2 separate regions of the Homo sapiens genome follow, and region 1 is linked to region 2. The links are contacts of gene promoters, found by promoter capture Hi-C in human tissues and cell types (Jung and others, 2019). All regions are on one chromosome and are shown on one strand. The core of a region is centred on a gene start or on the middle of the fragment in contact, and the rest is flanking DNA. Distances in the headings are between cores, read along the strand shown.

The links. Contacts are between HindIII fragments. The study calls those that stand out against the background at their distance.
Region 1: a fragment that was not itself captured here is called in contact with the fragment with the promoter of SLC29A3 in region 2 in 2 of the 25 tissues and cell types used here (lymphoblastoid cells and spleen).

Annotation. Positions count from the first base shown.
Region 1 is chr10:71,876,025-71,879,506 of GRCh38, reverse strand. LINC03139 (long intergenic non-protein coding RNA 3139) reads right to left here and starts at 1,420. Exons shown (of 2, transcript XR_007062186.1): 1 at 1,022-1,420; 2 at 400-794. RefSeq lists an enhancer at 2,630-3,482. The HindIII fragment of the contact is 7,970 bases long and covers 1-3,482 here.
Region 2 is chr10:71,317,247-71,320,994 of GRCh38, reverse strand. SLC29A3 (solute carrier family 29 member 3) reads right to left here and starts at 1,736. Exons shown (of 6, transcript NM_018344.6): 1 at 1,685-1,736. The coding sequence starts at 1,685. LOC124902445 (a long non-coding RNA gene) reads left to right here and starts at 1,332. Exons shown (of 2, transcript XR_007062183.1): 1 at 1,332-1,433; 2 at 2,091-3,026. RefSeq lists a silencer at 1,490-1,939. The HindIII fragment of the contact is 13,989 bases long and covers 1-3,748 here.

The sequences.
Region 1 (3,482 bases), core at 948-3,447, 560 kb before region 2:
CTCCATCTCAAAAAAAAAAAAAAAAGAGAAGAAAAGAAAAAGGAAAGAACAAAAATAGCCAGGTGTGGTGCTGTGCCTGTAGTCCCAGCTACTTGAGAGGCTGAGGCAGGAGGATCTCTTGAGCCCAGGATGTTGAGGCTGCAGTTAGCTATGATCGTGCCACTGCACTCCAGACTGCATGACAGAGTGAGACCCTGTCTCAAAAAAAGAAAAGAACAAGCATTACAGGGGCTGGGGGTAAGGGGGATGGGGATGGGACGTTATCGTTTAATGGGTACAGAGTTTCTGCTTTGCAAGATAAAGCGAGTTCTGGAGATGGGTGGTGGTGACTTTGCACAGCACAATGCGTGTATTTCATACCACTGAACTGTACACTTAACAAACAGTGAAGCTGGCAAATTTTATGTTATATATATTTTACTACAATTTTAAAAGCTGGGGGAAGAATTGCAAATTTTGGCTGCACAGCCTTTACATCAGAGGAGATGGCCCAGGTGCAGCCATGTGCGGTGGCTGCGGAGGCAACAGTGAAGATGACAATGATTGCTGACATTTAAGAAGTCCCCAGAGACAGCAGGGATAATGAGTAGGAAAAAACTCTGAGGGCAGGGGCTATGTCATACCCTCCTCTCCATACCCAGCACCAAGCCCATAGAGTGCAGTGGCGGGCTCTCAGCCACAGCGGCTGAGGAAGTGGTTGCGTCTGCATCGGCCTGCAGTGGACTGCCGGGGCAGGAAGAAGAACTAGCTTGTCTTTCACGGAGTCTTGTGTCCTTAAACCCAGATAAAGCGGCCTAGAGACAGTGAGAGAACAATGAGGGTTGTTGCAGACTAAAGCCGGGCCCTGGGCAATGTTTGGCCTCTGCCTGGGCCTCGGGCCCCACCCCCCATGTCCCCGGGCCCCACCCCCCAGGTCCCCGGGCCCCACCCCCCAGGTCCCCTTCCAGAACTTCACCAGTCTTGCCGGCCTCTCAGAGAGTCAGCCAACCCCTGAGGCCTTTCGGGGACTGATAACGCTCACCTTTGGCTCAGACTGAATCCAAACACTTCACCTCTTTTTCTTCACAGAGCCCCATCCTCCAAAGGACCCTGTTCCAGCTTGTGACAAACCCAGAGGCAATCCTGGTCATCCGGAGGAGGAGGTGTCTGTGCCGTTGCTTGGAGCTGACTGTAGGCCTAGAGGCACAGGATTATACAGGATTGTAAGAGAATTGTATTTTTCTTCCTTGCATTTTTCGGTGTTTTCTAAATTTTTTCAATGAGTATCCTTTTGAGAATCATTAAAAAAGAATACATTTTACTTGACAAGGTATATAAATACATGGGTTAAGATATTAAAATAGAAAGAGTAAGGATTGCTTGCACGTTACAGAGTCTGGGATTTGGAGCTCAGTGCCTGGCACTGAGGGGATCAAAGTGCCAGGTGCTCAAAGTGTTCGTTGAATGAGAGGCGGGGGTGGGGGTAATGGGTGGTGAGACTGCTACCCTGTCCCTCCTCCCTCACCACATCAATGTCTGTGAAGCATTTCTAGAGGATCTACTGTGCAATGGAACCCTGGGAGCCAGGGGTGACTGGGGAGGCAGCAGGTGCAGGTGCTGGTAATGCCGTGCCATTGGGAGCCCCACTGGGGGTCCTCCATGAATCACAGGGGACCCATACCCAGGATACTGAGGAAGCTTCCAGAAAAAAAGAGTGATGCTGGCCCTGGATTGTGAGGATGGGCAGGGGTTTTTTGGAGTGGGAGAAGGGTACAGGTGTTCCAGGTCATCAGTCCAAGTTCCTTCACTCCTTCATTATTTACTTGCTCAGTCATTTCACAAACAACCTTTTTTAAAATAATTAGACAGGGGTCTCACTATGTTGCACAGGCTGGTCTCTCACTCCTGGGCTCTGGCGGTCCTCCCGCCTTGGCCTCTGAAAGCGCTGGGATTGCAGGTGTGAGCCACCATGCCCAGCCTCACAAACATTTATCTGCAGTCCAAACTGGATCCAAACTCTCCTCACCGCACCTCTGTTTCTGGAGAATGCTTCCAGGGCGCCTAGAATATACCAGGTCCTGACCTAGTGACTAGAGATACAGCTGCCACTCATAAATAAACATATGCTAGCATGGCAAGAAGAAAAGATGGCAGGATGGCAGAGAGAAAGCTGCTAGGGAGCAGATGCAGAATGAATATCTGGAGCAGGAGCAAAGGGCAAGAGCCTCCAGACTGGGGGGAAACGACCTGGGCATGCTCAAAGGCAAAAGAGGCCACTGGAGATGTGTGAACAGCAAATGGTGTGATCTGATTGGGATCGTAAAGGATCACTTCCACACAACAGTGATCACACTTTGTCCACAGGCACCCTTTAAAAAACCCCTTTCAAATTTTTTTTTTTTTTTTTTGAGATGGACTCTCACTCTGTCACCCAGGCTGGAGTGCAATGGCACGACCTCGGCTCACTGCAACCTCCACTTCCCAGGTTCAAGCGATTCTCCTGCCTTAGCCTCCTGAGTAAGTGGGATTACAGGCACCTGCCACCATACCCGGCTAATCGTTATAGTTGCAGTAGAGACGGGGGTTTCACCATGTTGGCCAGGCTGGTCTCGAACTCCTGACCTCAGGTGATCCGCCCTCCTTGGCCTCCCAAAGTGCTGGGATTACAGGCATGAGCAAATGTGCCTGGCCCCTTTGAAATTTTTATCATTAGCCTAAACTTGCAAATGATGCATTTGGTGGTTTGCTGTAGACTGTATATCATCTTTAAATATTTTTTCCGCTCCCGCTCCCGCTCCCTCTCCCTCTCCCTCTCCCCACGGTCTCCCTCTCCCTTTCTTTCCACAGTCTCCCTCTGATGCCGAGCCGAAGCTGGATGGTACTGCTGCCATCTCGGCTCACTGCAACCTCCCTGCCTGATTCTCCTGCCTCAGCCTGCCGAGTGCCTGCGATTGCAGGCGCGCGCCGCCACGCCTGACTGGTTTTCGTATTTTTTTGGTGAAGACAGGGTTTCGCTGTGTTGGCCGGGCTGGTCTCCAGCTCCTAACCGCGAGTGATCCGCCAGCCTCGGCCTCCCGAGGTGCCGGGATTGCAGATGGAGTCTCGTTCACTCAGTGCTCAACGGTGCCCAGGCTGGAGTGCAGTGGCGTGATCTCGGCTTGCTACAACCTCCACCTCCCAGCCGCCTGCCTTGGCCTCCCAAAGTGCCGAGATTGCAGCCTCTGCCCGGCCGCCACCCCGTCTGGGAAGTGAGGAGCGTCTCTGCCTGGCCGCCCATCGTCGGGGATGTGAGGAGCCCCTCTGCCTGGCTGCCCAGTCTGGAAAGTGAGGAGCGTCTCTGCCTGGCCGCCATCCCATCTAGGAAGTGAGGAGCGCCTCTTCCCGGCCGCCATCACATCTGGGAAGTGAGGAGCGTCTCTGCCCGGCCGCCCATTGTCTGAGATGTGGGGAGCACCTCTGCCCTGACGCCCCGTCTGGGATGTGAGGAGCGTCTCTGCCCGGCC
Region 2 (3,748 bases), core at 487-2,986:
AGGGTCACATAACTAGTAGATGACAAGAGTGAAGTTACACAGCCAAGCAGACTGGGGCCCATGCTGGACTCCTCAGCACACCGGGGAGGACTGGCTGGGAATGGGAATCTGTGTCTGCTGGTTCCAAGTACAGGCATCCTTCCTGCAAGCCTTGAAGCCAGTGAGTCGGGAGGGGCCCAGGCACACTGCAGGCACCCTTGTCAATGTTTGCTGAATGAACGGACTCTGCACGACCAGGACATTCTCCCCTGCTGGGGTAGCATGTACCCTGGAGCCAGCAGGTGGGGGGCCACTGGATGCCCAAGTGCAATGCATCCAGCCAGCAAGTCTATTTTAAACTCCCCTGGTTAGCAGAGCCCCTCCCCAGCCTGGATTCGCATGGAGGCCAGCATTAACAAGCTCACTGTCTGGAAGCTCACTGTGTGGAAAATCGCTTTTTCCACATGCACCCACTCATAGAGGAAAAGCCATGTGAAGGCACAGCAAGAAGGAGGCTGTCTGCAAGCCAGGAAGAGAGCCCTCATCAGAAACCAAATCAACCAGCACCTTGATCTTGCCCTTCCCAGCCTCCAGATCCATGAGAAACAAATTTTGTTTAAGCCACCCAGTCTATGCTATTTTGTCTGGCACAAAATGGTACAAATGTAACAAGCTCACTTGTTACATTTTAAAAATTAGTGTTTAAAATGTAAAAAATAATCATGACCCACCCACATAGAACAAGAGAGAACCGGCAAGTGGTTCTTTCCAGAGGCTCCAGCTACCTGTGGGGGCGGCTAGAAGGTCCACCAGCCCTGTCACTCAGGACCACACCTGGCTAGGGCCCCCTTCTCAGTTCCTAGCGTCTATTTGTCAAGGCTTGACTGAGCTTCTGAAGAAGGAGCCAGGAATTTTCTCTAACCAGGGTCACAGGCCAGGGCACTGGAGTGAGCAAAGTCTTATTAGTCTTTATAAAAGCTAGCTGCTGGCTTCTGGATTAAAAAATAAAGAGAAAGGCAGGCAAGGAAGTGCCCAACCTTCCCCAAAACAAGCTGGCTGTGGCCTGGAACGTGCTCCTGGGTCACCTGCGGGAGCCCGGCCATGCACAGACAGACAGCCCCACACAAGGAGGCAGGCACTGCTGGGGCCGCGGCAAAACCTCATCTGGGCTGGGAAGCCTGGGTGCTGGTTCCAAGGAGGTTCCTGACTCTGGCTAGGTGGCTCGCCCCTCTGTGCCTCGATCTCCTGGGCTGTGAACCGGGGTGGGGAGCTGGTAGGGCTAACCTGTGGGAAGGCACTGGGAAGCGCAGGGCACCGCCTACTGGCCGCGGCAGAACCGGCTTTGCGGTGTAAACAGCCCCAGCCTCAGGCCCCGCAGCTGGGACCGAGAGAATCAGCCACCGTCTGGATACTTCGGGCCGACGGGTCCATACCAGGCCCCCACCATACAGGCGGTGAGGTCCAGTCTCAGGGAGGAGGAGGGGAGAGGATTTGGGGAAGAGAAGATAGAGACCCAGAAAGAGGGGTGGCAGAGAGCAAGGAGAGAGAGGAGGGACGGTGGGGAAGGGACCACGGATGGGGTAGGGTCCTGCGGCTCCCCTGGCAGCCCGCAGCCGCCCCCAGGGCCCGGGAGGGAGGTCGCTGAGCGCGAGTCTGGGGGCGGCCGGGACCGTAGCCGGAAGAGCCCGAGCCGGCCCGCACTTACTGTCGCCGCTGCGCCACGCCGCCGCTGCCTCCGGCGCACGGCCAGGACCACTGGGCTTGGCAGGCGGCAGGCGGGCTCCTCCCCCGGCCCCGCCCCGCCCCTCGCGGCAGCACGCCGCCGCTTCCCCGTTTGCAAACACGCTTTTTTCCTTTGTCTTCTGCCGGCGCGCCGGGGCTCCCCCTTCTGGCGCTGAGCTGGGGCCTGCGTGCGCCCATTTTATAGGAGAAAAAGTGAGTCACCCAGTCTTAAACGCACTGCCCATGCTTGCGATGGGTGCGCTGCGCATCAGGCCTTTTGGTTGCTGCTCCTTCTTTACCTTGGAGCCAGACCCCACTGTCTCAGACCTCCCCTTTAGCTACTATAACCTGCACCCCAGGACTCAAAGGAGCCCTCATCTTGTCCCCAGGCCGCTGCAGAGACCCCTCTCCAAAGGCCGCTTCTACCCTTACCGGCTGCCGCTGCTCTGGAGGTGAAGCGGGACCCACACCCGGACTGAACTGGGCCTCCCAGGCCAGGCAGCTATTTTCAGTAGACCCAGAACATGGCAGTCAGCAATTCCAGCCCTCACACTTGACCTCAGCCATAGCGTGTAACACACAGCTGCCGCGTGTTCTTTAAGAAAGCAGGGGCCGGGCGCGGTGGCTCACGCCTGTAATCCCAGCACTTTGGGAGGCCGAAGCAGGCGGATCACCTGAGGTCGGGAGTTTGAGACCAGCCTGGCCAACATGGCGAAACCTCGTCTCTACTGAAAATACAAAAGTAGCCGGGCATGGTGGTGCGTGCCAGTGATCCCAGCTATGTGGGAGGCTGAGGCAGGAGAATCGCTTGAACCCGGGAGGCGGAGATTTCAGTGAACCGAGATGGTGCCACTGCACTCCAGCCTGGAGCCTGGGCGACAGAGCAAGACTCCATCTCAAAAAAAAAAAAAAAAAAAAAAAGGCGGAAACCTTCCTGACTCCCGGTCCTGGCCCAGTTGGCCTATTCAGAGCGGGGATCTGGATGCTTCACAGGGCCTGAAGATCTGTGACCATGGATAGTAAATTCTTGCAGTTGCCATCCCAGGGCTCAGGGGTGCCACAGAACCCATTGAGGCTGTCAGTGTGTGGACAGGTTCTCAGAACATCCCCACTCCCTGCCCCAGCCTCTCATTTTATAACCACCATTCCCCAAACACTGGCCTGATCATAAAAGTCTCGAGTACACATCCAGATTCTGGGGACCTCTCCCCAGGAGGGTTGCTGCCACTCCCCAATCCCTGAGGGTGGTGCTGTATCTGCTTTGTTTGCTCTTCCCTCATCGTGGGCACATAATTTGTGTTCAATAAATACCTGGATTAATACAACCCATCACTCAGGGGGTGCAGAATGGGGATCCAGAATGGATCTATTTAACAAGCTCCACCAGCAGGCGAGTTTGGAGACTAGCACCCTAAATTGTCAGAAAGCCCCCCGGCCCAGGAGAGGAAGGGGCTTAGCTCCAGGCTTACAAGCTGAGGGATAATGGTAAAATTACTAAACCTCTCTGAAACCCAGGGTCGGCTTAGGACTGTCGGGAGAATTAAGTCAGGTGATCCATGCCAGGCACTCAATGCAAATTTCCATCACTTCCAAGGAAGACACTCCCCACCCCCAAAATGTGATAGTGTATATGTTAGTTTAGTCATCAGGCCTTATTTTTAGCCTCTTTACGTTGGAAAAAAATCCTCTAATATACAGAGCATTTTCATGAACAGTCTCCCATTTGATTCCACCCCCCCACCCCAGTACCCAGTGAAATGGGACTGTTGTCCCCATTTTACAGATGAGGAAAGCCAGGCTCAAAGAGGTCAAGTGGCTTCCCAGGGCACACAGCTGGCAGTGATGGAGTGGCAGAACCCAGAGCCAAGGCTCTTTTTGTCATGCCCGGTTACAGGCAGGCAGGTGAGGCTGAGGGGAGCTGGGACAGCACGAGGGACAAAGCCGTAGGATTCAGTGAGGGCAGCAGATCAGGGCTATTTCTGGTCCAGCCCCAAGACCATGACCCATGTCTGTGAAGCTCCGGTGCTTTGTCACTTGATTGCTTTTA